Linked DNA regions of Homo sapiens: regions 1 and 3 are each linked to region 2. The links are contacts of gene promoters, found by promoter capture Hi-C in blood cells and fetal thymus (Javierre and others, 2016). All regions are on one chromosome and are shown on one strand. Each heading gives the region's core, a stretch centred on a gene start or on the middle of the fragment in contact. The rest is flanking DNA. Distances are from core to core; before and after follow the strand shown.

Region 1 (4,122 bases), core at 1,534-4,033, 1.4 Mb before region 2:
TATCTACTTCAGCAAAATGCTAACACGATCTCCAAGAACCAACCTTGCTAATACAAACAAGGTTCTCTTTTAAAGATAGCTTAATGAGAAACTTCAGTTCAAGTGTATGTACATCATAAATACAGGCTAAACCTTTAGAGACTGACTAGTTTGGGAACTACTGAATAAAGAAAATTTCTTCAAGGAAAGTTTAACCAGTTTTATGCATCCATTCAGTTAGGTGATACAGCAGTATTTAAAACACACTCTGACTTTAAAATTAACCCAATACACATAGCCTCTGATGTCCTAAAATTTACTAAGACCCACACTAAAGTTTCATCTGAAGCCAAATATTTGTGTTACATTATTTGGCTGAACTAATCAAACGAAGCTGGTTTCTTTTAAAGCTAAAATGGGCAGTGTAGAGCTTGAGAAAAGAAAATAATATAAAGAAATCTGCACTTTCCTATTCATGCATTTTAGAAAAATAAAAAAAAAAAAAACCCTGTACCTCCAGCCCTCAGTGACAGCAACCCAGAAAGAATGTGAAGTATACCAAAATTACTTGTGAACTTTTAAGTCATTTTTTTCTCTTGTCATGGAAAGGAGCACGGTAACTTTTCCTGCAGACAGAAGGAGAAACCACAACCCCACAGTTGTAATCACTGTTCAAGGACACCGCACTGAAGCTGGGTGGGAATGTGCAGAAACAAGCAAATACTCCGAAAGTAAACAGTGTTTTTGTTTTTTGTTCTCTTTTTGATGTCACCAGTAAAGATTCCATCCTATTCCCCTAAAAGGCACATTACTTTTCAAAACAGTCAGACGAGAGCAAACAACGCAACTGGCGAAAGGCAAGAATCTCCTTCCCTGATACTCGCCCTGGCCTAATATTTCATCTCCCTTCAACTAGATTACCAGATGAATAGGGCAGGTCACAGGATCAGGATGAAAACGTCTGTCTGGCCTTAAGCCCTCCCAGCCCCAAGTCCAACGCTGCCTTACTTTTCCTGTTTCTGATTCTAATCCCACCCAAAGCTCGGCTCACAGATTAAACCCACCCCGACCACTGTCCCGTTCTCCGACTTCATCCTCCCCAACTTGTCCTCGAATTAGGTGTCCAAATGACTGCCAGGTAAATGAGCGAAAACAAAGACTCTGAGACCGAAGTTAGGCCAGCCACCAGCGCCAGAAAAGGAAGAGCGAACGCGGTGTAGAACACTTCAGAAGAACTAGGAAAGGTCCAAGGGCTCGTGAACAGTCTGCGCCGCGGACCTGCAAGCCCCGGCAGATAAAAGCAGAAAGGCAGGGTAGAGAGCGGAAGGAAACTCGCAGTAGAGACATTTTGGGGAGTGTTAAGAGACGCACTCCCTCTGGCGTTGAAAGATCCACAGTCAAATCCGAAATGCGCCCGAATCTAGGTAACAAGAGCAGACTCTCCATCAGCGGGGTCGCCCTCGGCCTCCCTGCACAGCCCCGGGGCTCCCCCGGAGACGCCCCTTCCCACGCCTGCAGCCTGGCCCAGCCCGGCCGAGTCCGAACTGGCGGCAAGCGCTGGCTGAGCCACTTCTCCCGACTCTGATTCCCACGCGCGGCCCCTCCCAGGACGCCCCCTGCCCTGGCTCCGCGCCTACCTGTAGCACCAGCGGCTCGGGGTTGAAGGCCAGGGTCAGCAGCAGCTGCATGCGCTCCGAGTCCTTGAGGTTGCGAAGCAGGAAGCTGCCCGAGTCCTTGGTCTCCGCGTAGCGGCGCACCAGGCGGTCGAGAAGGCGCTGCGAGGGGCAGTGCACCAGGTCCGACCAGCCCTCCACCGCCTCGGGCGTGAGCAGACGCACGTCGCCGTTGAGGCGCGCGAACTCGGTCCGGGGCATGGCCTGCAGCAGGTCGCAGCGGGGCCGGCCGGTGGCCCGCTTGCAGATGCTCTGGTCGAGCTGCGCCAGCTCGCGCTGCGAGCCGAGGCGCTTGAGCACCACTCGGCGGCGGCCGCCCTCGCGGGGCTCGCCGTACTGCGCGAAGTACACGTTCTTCACGTTGAGGAAGTCCAGCAGGCGCAAGCGGCCCCACGCCTCGAATACCACCTGCCCGTTGAGGAAGCGGCGGCACCAGCTCGTGCCGAAGCACGCCGGGCACTTATTGAGCTGCAGGAAGCGCCGGTCGGTCAGTTCGTTGCGCTGCCAAGAGGCGAGCAGCGACGGCGAGTGCAGCACCATCAGCACCAACAGGCTGCCCAGCGCCGCCAGCTTCAGCGAGCGGGACAGGCGGCCCAGCTTCGGGGGCACCAGGCGCCACATACCGCCCGCCCGCCCGCAACGGGAGGGCGAGGGCACCCCCGGGGCGCCCCCGCCGCGCCAAGACCCGGAGAGCTACCGGCAGGAACCCCGGGCGAGAGAAGGAGCTAGCGCGCGGGCTGGGGCGGAGGGCGGAGTAGGTGTGTGAGAGAGGAAGACGGGGAGCGGGAAGGCGCGGGCCTGAGCGGGCTGCGACTTCTCCCAGTCACTAGTCTCCACAACTCTCGAGCTCCCTCCTCCTAGCTCCCCGCCCTCCGACTCCGGCGGCGCCTCCTCCACGCCAGCCAAGTTATAGAGGAGCGGGAGGGGGAGGGAGCGCGGGGACCCGACGGTCGCGCGCCCGTGCCCGCGCGCACGCGCACTGCTGGCTTCGCACAAGAGCTGCGGCGGCAGCCAGCCACGACAAGTGGGGTCTGCGAGGAAAGGAGGGACTCACGGAAGGGGAAGAGGAGCTAGGATGTCTCACACCCACAAGCAGCAACGCACGTCTCAGAGCCGCACACCCTTGCTTGTGCGCGCTGGCTCTCCTGAGACCAAGAAGGGGAGCCGGGGGCGGGGCCAGAGGGGCGGAGCGAGCGCGTCGCGCGCCGCCCGGAAAGCGTAAGCGGGAGCTCGCGGGAGCGGGTGTGGGGGCGGTTCAGAGAGGGGGAAGCTCGGGCTCTTGAGGTGGGGGCATGAACTCGCGGTTTCTGGTTTCAGAAAGAGTCTTAATTACAGTCATCTTTTATGATTATTGTGGTTTACTGGTGCGTTCCTTTCACTATTGTGGAAACGGCCCTTTAAGGGAGGAGGGAATAAGAAGAAATGAACTGAGGAAGTCTATTGCAAATCCTTCCCTCTGGACGGCGCGCGAGGCGGAGGCAGAGCTGGCGCGATTGCCTCCCCTCGCCTTATATGGGTTGGGTGCGCGCCTGGGGGGTGGGGCGAGGCCGGGGAGTGCCCGACGGGGGCTTGTGTTCCCCTCAGCTCGTGCTCCTCGCGGTAGGGGGTGGGGCCTGTGAGGAAGACGGTGAGAAAGGCTCGAGTAGTGGCGGGTTTGTTGGAGCTTCATCTTTGGGGTTGTATCTGTAAAATCATTTAAAATTTTCTTGAGTGAGCACAAAATAAAGTTCTCAAGCCACCGTGTTAAAGGGAAAATAGGATGAAGGGGAACCGACGCGGCCTGGTGTCGCCAGGACGTCTGCCCCAAGCGCCGCGAAGAAGCCGGGAAGAGTTTGCCAGGCTTGCCTCTGCTGCCCGCCGGCTGCCCTAGCCCGTCCCCGGAGCCCTGCGGTTCCTCTCCGCAAAGCTGATTTCCCGGTGCCGCCCCTGAGGGTCCCTGAGGAGCGGGCCGCGAAGCGTTGCCCTGGCGGTAGCCATGGGGACCCGGGGCTGCTTGGTGCTCCGCACGGTCACGTTGACTCAGTCACCCCAGACTGCAAAAGTAAGGCGCAGATGCCGCACGAAAGCACTGTGTTTAGGGATAAGTTTCAGGGGACCCGGACTGTTTAGCAGTAGCGCTAGTAGATACATTATTATGCTATTCACTTTTAGTGCTAGAGTAGTTAAAATGAGAAGTGATTTTTAGTCTGAGGGACAGGTGGTTCCTGATACGTTATTAAACAACTGAGTCTTAACTGAGTTAATTTTAGGGCTTGAACAGTGCTTTTAGAAGACCATGGTAACTGGCATGTGTAGATCAACTCTACAGCGGGTTAATAAGAAACATCTATACCAGGTTATCAAAAGTAACAATACTTTCAGTATTGTTTAATTGTAACAGGTATTTGTTACAAATTCTTATAAGAACTCAGATTTTGAAAAAAAAACTTTGAGAAATTTAATAAATTCAAAATAGACGTGATTTTGTAAC
Region 2 (4,561 bases), core at 1,816-4,315:
CTCGGGAGGCTGAGGCAGGAGAATGGCGTGAACCTGGGAAGCGGAGCTTGCAGTGAGCCGAGATTGCGCCACTGCACTCCAGCCTGGGCGACAGAGCGAGACTCCATCTCAAAAAAAAAAAAAAAAAAAAAAAAGAATATCTGAGTCCCTCCTCTATACAATTAGGGGATAGTCTGGATAAAGCGCTACCATATAGCTCTAAGATCCTAAATGCCCACCCTCCCCATGGCAAAATGCACTTTTTATTTATTTATTTATTTATTTATTTATTTATTTATTCATTCATTCATGTAATAACTATTGAGTGTCTGATACTGCAAAGCAATGTGCCAGGTATTGTGAAGGGTTAAAGGTCATCCTTCAGAGAGCTTATCATCTAGAACGGGAAATAAGACAATTACATCACTAACTAAGAAACAGAGACAATGTCACAATTCGAGGTACTTTTTTTTTTTTTCAGATGCAGTCTTGCACTGTCGCCCATGCTGGAGTGCAGTGGCACAATCTTGGCTCACTGCAAGCTCCGCCTCCCGGGTTCATGCGATTCTCCTGCCTCAGCCTCCCAAGTAGCTGGGACTACAGGCGCCCACCACCATGCCCCCCCAGCTAATTTTTTGTATTTTTAGTAGAGATGGGGTTTCACCGTGTTAGCCAGGATGGTCTCAATCTCCTGACCTTGTGATCCACCCACCTCGGCCTCCCAAAGTGCTGGGATTACAGGCGTGAGCCACCACACCCAGCCAATTGGAGGTACTTTTAAGATAAAAAGAACATTATAAACCCATTACTAACACCCCAACCCTGAAATTCATTTTCAACATGTCTTTCCTTCTCTGCATTTAGTCTTTCACCACATGCTTCTTCCTTTACATTTCTTAATTCTGTGCCCTCTTTTCTCCACTTTGAGTCACAGGCTTAATCCAGGGCCTGGACCAACTGACCCGTGTTTTTACGCCTGTCTCCTGTAATCCCCCTAACTAATCTGTGATCTGTTATCAAAATATGAGGAATCAGAAATGGACTTGGCTGCTGTCTTGATACAGCTCTAACATGGCCTTCCCCATATTATAGAACACACATGAAATCTCTTTACAAAACTATACATACTGCACTTCCTTCCCCCACTCCCTCCCACAAACAGGGGCTAAGAATATACTTTGTGCTTAGTGCTGGGTGGGATGTTTAAGTCATAGGCTTTAACCTCCAAGAGCTTACACAACCTGCCAACTTCCTGGTCGGGAAGTTGGGAGGTGCTAAAATACTCAGGATACTATATACAATGGGGATACTAACAGCACAAACAACAGTAGTAAGTGCTATAGGGTTCAGAAGAGGGAGAGCTACTTCATGCTAAGGCAATCAAGGAAGGCTTCCAAAAAGAGGTCACACCTGAGCTACACCTTGCAGCATGAGCAGGACTTCAATACGGAAAGAGGGAGGCAAACAGGCATTTTGGGCAAAGGGCCCAGGTGACTGAGGGAAGGAAGGAGGGCGTTTTCAGGACCAGCAAATTGTTAGGTGGGGCTTCAGTGAAAGGGCACTTTTTGAAAGGAATTTATGAGGTACTAGGAAGCTTAGTAAGAGAAACAACTAATTTTCTGCTTAAGCCAGACTTCATGGTATAAGTAGAAGAGAAAAAGGAAGTTTAATAATGGAGGTAAAGAAGAGTATCTGCAGGGAGTGGTAAAAAGACCCCAGAAAATGAGAAAACCTGGATCCCAGGCCTAGCTTTGCCAATGAGGGGCTTGGGTGGCCACAGCAAGTCATCTAACCTCGCTGGTCTCAGTTTTCTCATTTGTAAACTGAAGCAGCTGAACTGGCTGACCTCAAAGGTCTCTACAGCCAAAACTAGACCAGCTGTATATTATTTCTGCCATTAAAACATTTATCATGGGAGGAATGAAGGGGGGCAGGATACCTGTATTCCCTTTCCATATAGGTTTCTCTTCCTGAACTTAAAATTTCCTCTTCCTAAACTTACTACCTCTCTCTCTATATATATATATGCCTCCACATTACACATTAACACTTTACTATAGAATTTCATTACATAATTCAACTTAAAGGAAAGCTGATTACAAAGGTGGTGGGGGGTGTAAAAGTACTTGCTTCAAGTTCAGTGTGTGCCCCCTGTCCTGAAATTTTGCTTCTGGCTCACAGGTTCTTCAAGAAATTTATGCAGCACAGCTGAAGCCTCATACAAGTGTATCCAACACCGTGGCTGGAGGGAAAGATATCACGGTATAAGCCATAAAATGTGACATAGTAAGTAAGTAAAGGAGGAAAAGTGAGAATTCTGTTACTCATCTAAACGACCGCTTCCTTTTAATAGTACCAAATGAAGACCGAAATACAGTAATAATTGAAAAGTTAGGGAGAAATCTTAAATTTTTTTAAGTCTCCACTTGAAAATGCAGCTGAAACACGGAAAGTTTTTTGGCAGTGAAATTCGCTGAAAACTGACATTTTTATGCCGCATCCAGAGGTCCCTATGCTCCAGGAAAGGTACCAAAAACAGCACGGATGGGATTTCACTACAGCCCTATTGATCCTATGCACCAAAAGGCCAAAGGCAAATAAACCAGTCCCAGAATTAAAACAAAACAGGCTGGTTCAGAAAGCCTCACCGGCAGCCACCCAAAGTTGAAAGAAGAAAACTTAATGAAATACCTTATTTCATTGCATAGAATCACAATTCAGTTAACAGGCTTATTGTTTAAGCAGTGTAAATACGCGATTTAACACCTGCGGGCACTGCCTGCCGGGACTGGGCAGAAGCGTGCCCAGAGGACGGCGGGCGCCACACTGCACAGCCAGGAGACGAGACGCGAGCGAGGGGACCCGGAGATACTGCCCCCGAGCCGCCGCGCGCCCCCAAAGGAGTAACGCTTCGCTTTCCATCTGTCTGTCCAGCCTTCCTTTTGGGCCCTATCCCCACCCCCGCGTACCTGCCGCCACCGCTGTCCTGCCTTCGAGAGGGCAGCTCCCACTGGAGATCCAAGTACCTGCAGGTCCACTCTGCGGCTACCTCTCCGCGCCCGCGTAGCCGCTGCGCTCGCGCCACTGCGCATGCTCGGCCGGCACCCGGGCCCGCAAACTCTGAATCCACTTGCCGCGTTTTGCCTGCGGCTCCCAGGGGAGGGAAAGGGAAGCCCAGAACCTGGGTTTAGGCTAAGGGTGAAAGAGGAGTTGCAGGCGCTGGGAGCGTGGATGGGGAGAGGTGGACGGGCGCTGCGGCAACGTTATCTCTACCGCCCACAGTTACCCAAGTCTAAAGATGACCACCTACACCCTGGGAATGAGTTTAGCACAGCAGTTCTCAAACTTGAGCGTGGATCAGAATCACCTGGAGAGCTTTTTAAATCACAGATCCCAAACCCGGAAACTGAGTTTCCGATTCAGTTAGGTCTGGAGCGTAGCGCGACAGTTCCCATTTCTAACATGTTCTCAGCGAAAACTGGTGCTACTAGTCTGGGTACCACACTTTGGGACCTGCTGGTCAAAAGGAAAGGTATACGTTATTAAAGGAAGACTTGTTTCTCTCCCCTACTCTTTTTTTTTCCGTTTGTTTCACGGATTGCTTCCTTTTCCTTTAACAGCCACACCTGATTAAAATAAATATATAACTAAAGCCCACACTCAAACAAAAGTGGGATATTTTCTCTCGCATGTGAGTCAGGTAAATGGAATGCTGCCTCAAGAGTTCTCACATACTTTGCCTGAAGCATAATCCGTAGTTGTGGTCTGTCCAACTCAGTCCAGAGAACAGAACAAGGTTTTGCTGCCCCTTTAACTCAAAGTCCCACGTGCCCCTTCTGCGCCTAACACAATATCCAATACAGAATAGGCACCCAACCAACCCTGAGATGGTAACAATAGAAAAAATAAAGGGGGGAAGTTGAAATTATTTTAAGAACTCAAACAAATTGGACGAGCAATGAACTATGAAAGTAGGTGGGCCATGGAGAGGGAAGATAAGGAATTTTTCCCACCTGCCACCTAGAGAATCAGGTGAATTTAGTATTCTTATCTGATTTTTCCCACCTGCCACCTAGAGAATCTGGTAAATTTAGTATCCTTATCTGATACTTATTTATCTAGATATGCAAGGGGAGTTAAGTAAGTTCTCACAAAATAAAGCAAAATATTTCCTTAAAAGGTAAACATACATCTAACATATGACCCAGCCATTTCATTCCTAGATGTTATCCAAGAGAAATTAAAACATATGCTTACACAAAAACTTGAACAGGAATGCTCATAGCAGCTGTTTTTCACAAAAGCCCCAAACCAGAAGGAACCCAACTGTCCAACAACATGTAAATGAAAAAACAAATTGTGGTATATTTATACAATGCAATACTACTCAACAATAAAAAAGAAGAAATACTCTCACACAGGACTCAATATGGATAACTCTCAAAATCGGTATGCTGAGTTGAAGAAGCTAGAGACAAAACATATTGTATAATCCCACTTATATGAAGTACAAACTAACCTATAATGACAAAACCCAGATTAGTAATTGCCTGGAGCCAGGAGTGGAGGGAAGGATAAACTG
Region 3 (4,708 bases), core at 219-2,718, 1.1 Mb before region 2:
GTTCTCCAATGTGAGTGAACGTAAAACTCACTTGGAGAGTCTGAAAGTACTAATTAGGGGGTTCTGCCTCCTGAAATTCTGATTCCGTAGGTCCAGGGTCAAGTCCAACACCCCATTTCTAACAAGTGTCTCGTTGATGCTAGTAGCACTAGTCCACAGCCCCGATGAATATAAAAACTGAATGAAATATTTGCTTTTCTGAGTAAATGTCAAGAATTATTGAGATGAAGGAGGCTTGGAACTGATATTTTTAATCTGAAATAGATATCATTTATTGCACTGGTAGAACCTGTATGTAATTTCAAGGGTGCACATCTTACCTTTTATTATAATTATAATAAACTTCCCTTATCATATAGTTCCTCCTCAGAGAATGTGAACTGCAGGAGTCCTAGTTCCCAGTAGAAAGTGCTGTTAGAAAACCTCTGAGATTTCTACCTCTGGGAGTAGTATCCTCTTGAGATGCCACCAGCTCTGATGTCTCTTGTTTGTCTCCCTTGCCCAAATAAGCTTTCCTAGCATGTACTACCTAAAATCACGGCTAGGTGTCGCTCTAATTCTGGGGCGCACCGGTTTCAAGGGGAAGTGTGAACCAGGGCGCTGGCACTGCTCGTGTGTTTATGGGTGAAAGCATCTAAGAGAGGCCCTGTGAAATTGCCTGCATAAAAGGATCACAGTTAGGGATGTCTCATAAACTAATCCCAAGAGGAGCCTTCCACTAAAAATAAAATAAGCACGTAATAAGGGTAGAAAAATTTCCTAAAAATGAGGTTGGGATTGGTGGTCAGAGCGTCCTGGATATCAAAAGTGTCAGTTCATTAAGGCAAGATTAGTGTCATGGGTGAATGGAGCATCACAGTTTAATGCTTTAACTTATTGGAACCTCACTTTCCACTTCCTTAAAATAGAGACTATCAAAACAAAACAAAACAGAAAGTACCTTCCATTTCTTCAAAGAATTTTTGTCAGATCAAATGAAGAGCTGTATGGAAAATTATGTGTAAATTGCTAAGTGTTTTAAAACACATTTTTATTAGCAGTGAATTCTTCTCAGGCACTTTATTGGATTTTTAGATAACACTATCATGATATTCCTATTTATTCCTGAACATAAAATTTCCAGATACCATTTTCTTCCTACATGACCATAATTAAAGAATTTGTTTTCTTATGTTTTCATTACTTGTCCATCCACTTCCACGGTAAATCTCAAATGTAAAGAGACTAAAAAGAAAAAATTAATAAAATTATATTTATCCTCATGTGGAATTTCTGCTTTTTGTAATAGCTACTATACACTTAAATATTTAAAATTTAGAATATTTTCTCCATGTTTCCAGATGCTGCCCCCCTAGACATATTGAACATTAGGAAATGTTGTCAGAAAGTCTTTTCTACTAGTCTCTGTTTTGGATTATCTAGATCATAGTTCCTCTGATAGAATAATCAATATTATTAATATTATTAATTAACAATATAATTAATAAGTATGGTCTTGCTGGCCTTTTATGCCCTGCCCTCCCACCCTTCCCTACTCCATCCTACCCCAACCATAAATTATAAAGCCAAATACAGATTTGTATTTGGATTGGTATTTCACTGATATTTCAAACCAGTTCCACTCCTTCTCTAATTAAATGTGCATTTTCTTTGTGATTTGACTGCCAGTCTACACCCTAAGTCACCATCTATACCTTATTGCAGGTAATTCGTGTCGACAATCATCACTAACCATAGCCATCCTCTCACTGAGTGCATGGACACAGAATATGCCTTCTCGTCCAGCTTCTCATCCTGCAGGGCTCCTATGGGTGGGGTTTTCCCTGTATGAATTCTCCAACTTGGCAAAATGATGATTACTGTCCCCTCGCCATAATCAGATAGAAGCACTGGAGAAATGTATAGCATTGAGTTTTCATCTTTTCTATTATTAACACTTTGAGGAAATAAGAGTCTTCCAAAATGAAAGGCATTTCTATACACTGTACTTGCAAGTCATTATTTTCATTTAACATTTAAGTAGTAGGAATAAAAGCCACCTTTATCCTTTAAAGTTTGCTGTAGTGTAACTATTGCAGAGGCACATGAACTATCTTACCTTTGATGGTGTTGATAATCTGAAGCCCCTTTCTATTTGGGGTTACTATGGTTACGGCTGCTCAGGTGATGTGTGAGCTGCACTGCTGTTTTGATAAAAATAGGTATTAACTACCAGTCATAGTGCTTTTCATTTCATAGCAGTTCTTGTAGAAGCACAGCATATTTTTTAAAGGTTGGGGGGAGAAATGCCTTTTCAAAGACTTATGTGGGAACATCTGCATAAATAATGGTGATTGGTCATGTGTATAAAAATATTTTTAATTAAATTCATTTTAATTAAACAGGGCATTTTGCTGAATCCTTCTCTGTTATTTGCACCAAGCTTAGCCTTGAGGAAGATGGCTGATTAACAGACCCAAGAACCTATAATTAAAAGCAGGACTGTTATTTTTGGAGAAAAGCCTCTTCAGTAAGGATGACTTAATTGGGCTGTCTCTCATATTTTTCATTCATCGTGGAACTCCAGGTTTAAATATTTAATTTTTCTAACACCGGAGAAAGATTACTCACATTGGCATAATCAGAAAAGTTTTTATTTTTCAGTTTTGTTTTCCTTCAGTTTCTCTGATCATGCTCTCTAATCACTGTTGTGTTTCAATATTTAATTGTGTTCTTCATTGATTTCTTTTGTTTGGATCACATCTTTTTAAAATCATGGATATTGTTCTTTTTCACCTTCTGGCCCTCTCTGCCTCTGCATTTAGTTTTAGCCTATATTACACTTGTGGTTTCTCATCACTGGTGTTATCAATATTCTACACAAGAATTCAAGAGAAAACGGAATAATTTTCTATTCACAGACAAAAAAAAAATTTAAGATGTAATTGACAAAGTAGTTCCTTCAGTACCAGGGCTGGCTTAGAGAACAAAGACAACATTCATTTAATATCGGCTAAGCAGGAAGAGATCAAGATGGTTTTATGCCATATTATAAACAGCAAAAAATGCTCTCATATAGTATAAAGTTTGTGTTCCTGAATTATTTGCTCTGTCATCTATAAAGAAAGTTGGATGACTCTACTTTTAGCATCTAATATTTGGTAGAGAAAGATTGCATTGGTATTGCTGTGAGAGAACAGAAGCAGTAAGAGATATTCATATGTTTTCATTGAATTCCAAGGGGGGAGAAATTACACCTCAGAGGGAGTCAGAGGATGTTAGACCAGAGTACCTCCCACTGAAGCCAGCAGGCTTCTAGAGAGCACAGACGTATCAGCCATTTTTACTATGCAATCTGCATTTCAAACCTGCACACAGTGTCATTTAACAGTACTTGGCTGTATTTTCTGTGTCTTTACAATTCAGTGTTAAGCACAATGGAATAGCATCAGTTTAAAACCCTCTACATAAACCTATGTCTGTAAAACTCCATCATATAAACCTCAATTCTATTCTTGAGCAAATTTACTCAGAAATAAAAATAACAGCTTTGATTTATATTGTTTGACTCTTTCAAAGAGCTCAAAGAGCTTCTACAGACAGTATTTCAGTTATTTTCACATTGTGTTCTTGGGTAGAGAAGACCCATTTCTTAGGTGAAATAATTGAGGTGCAGCAAATTTTAAGATTATCTCAAGGTTTCACGGCAAGTTAATGAAATATAGGTATGGAAGCTAGGAATTCTGTTTCCTTAGATTTCTAGACTGTGTTTTTGCTAGATACTAAACACTAACATCTATCTGAAAAAAAAACTGACTTTTGCTAACTTGCAGCCAGCTTAAAATTATTGAAGCAATGGCTGTACTTGAATCAATATGTAGAAGCAACCCAAAGCCACGGATTGGCAGCAAATTAAAAGCTCCATCTGAATACGTCTACTAGAGAGTATGTTATCTAGTGATAGCAGCCATTAACTAAATGTGTACAAATATATCATCTAATTTGATCATCACCACAGCCGATCAATTATCTCCATTCCAAGCAACAGAGGTTCTAAAAACTTAAGTGGTACATTTACAAGGCTCGTAAGTGGCAGAGATGGGAGACAAATCAGGTCCAATATTCTTTGTCCTACACCATTGCTGTTTCTCAAAATAGAACAGTGATGTGCCAATCAAGCTTTGGAAGAAAATGAAATCCAAGAGTCAAGAGTCAAGTTCCCACTTTATAATTGATTTTATTTAACAAACATTTGTTCATTGCCTGCTATGTCATAGGCACTGTAGGAGCTACTGAGGGAAGGGATAATAAACCAGACACAGGTTCTGCTCTCAGCATGCTCCCAGTCTAAAGAGGGAGGTAGATACGACAACTGGCAGTAGTCTAAAAGACAAGACAGAGGTAATCCAGGCAGCTTTGTAAACACAGAGTACCACCTGGTGGGGAGAAGGCTCTGAGAAAGCTTAAGGTCTCCTGTACCTCAAGCCAATATTTTGCCCAGATGAAGAAGATAACAGCTCAGCTGGAAGAACCATGAGCCATGTTTCTCTCCAGGGCCACAGACGACGTCACCTGCAGAACATTAGCAAGGTCTCCCTGGGCTCAGATACTCTTTGGAGTGTCCTGTCTTGGTAACCCTTAGAGTCACAGTCAAAACAAGGGCATATGCATTTGAAATTATGACAGCCCTCCCCTCATTCATGCAGAGAAGTGTTAAACTCATGATCAC

What was found. Contacts are between HindIII fragments. The CHiCAGO score rates a contact against its expected background, and 5 or more counts as called.
Region 1: a contact is called between the fragment with the promoter of DIPK2A here and the fragment with the promoter of PLS1 in region 2, in 2 of 17 cell types (fetal thymus and non-activated CD4 T cells). The highest score is 8.0, in fetal thymus.
Region 3: a contact is called between a fragment that was not itself captured here and the fragment with the promoter of PLS1 in region 2, in 1 of 17 cell types (naive CD8 T cells). The highest score is 5.6, in naive CD8 T cells.

The regions. Positions count from the first base shown.
Region 1 is chr3:143,970,484-143,974,605 of GRCh38, reverse strand. DIPK2A (divergent protein kinase domain 2A) reads right to left here and starts at 2,783. Exons shown (of 3, transcript NM_173552.5): 1 at 1,617-2,783. The coding sequence starts at 2,273. RefSeq lists enhancers at 1,048-1,307, 2,316-2,896, 2,948-3,037, 3,308-3,417, 2,897-3,477 and silencers at 1,458-1,697, 2,188-2,837, 3,168-3,217. The HindIII fragment of the contact is 6,379 bases long and covers 1-4,122 here.
Region 2 is chr3:142,594,897-142,599,457 of GRCh38, reverse strand. PLS1 (plastin 1) reads right to left here and starts at 3,065. Exons shown (of 16, transcript NM_001145319.2): 1 at 2,949-3,065. PLS1-AS1 (PLS1 antisense RNA 1) reads left to right here. Exons shown (of 4, transcript XR_001740938.2): 4 at 2,161-3,549. RefSeq lists an enhancer at 2,770-3,009. The HindIII fragment of the contact is 10,696 bases long and covers 1,576-4,561 here.
Region 3 is chr3:143,670,392-143,675,099 of GRCh38, reverse strand. The region is part of intron 5 of SLC9A9 (solute carrier family 9 member A9); the gene reads left to right. Among named protein-coding and RNA genes, the nearest start is that of SLC9A9, 180 kb to the left of the region's middle. The HindIII fragment of the contact is 1,912 bases long and covers 513-2,424 here.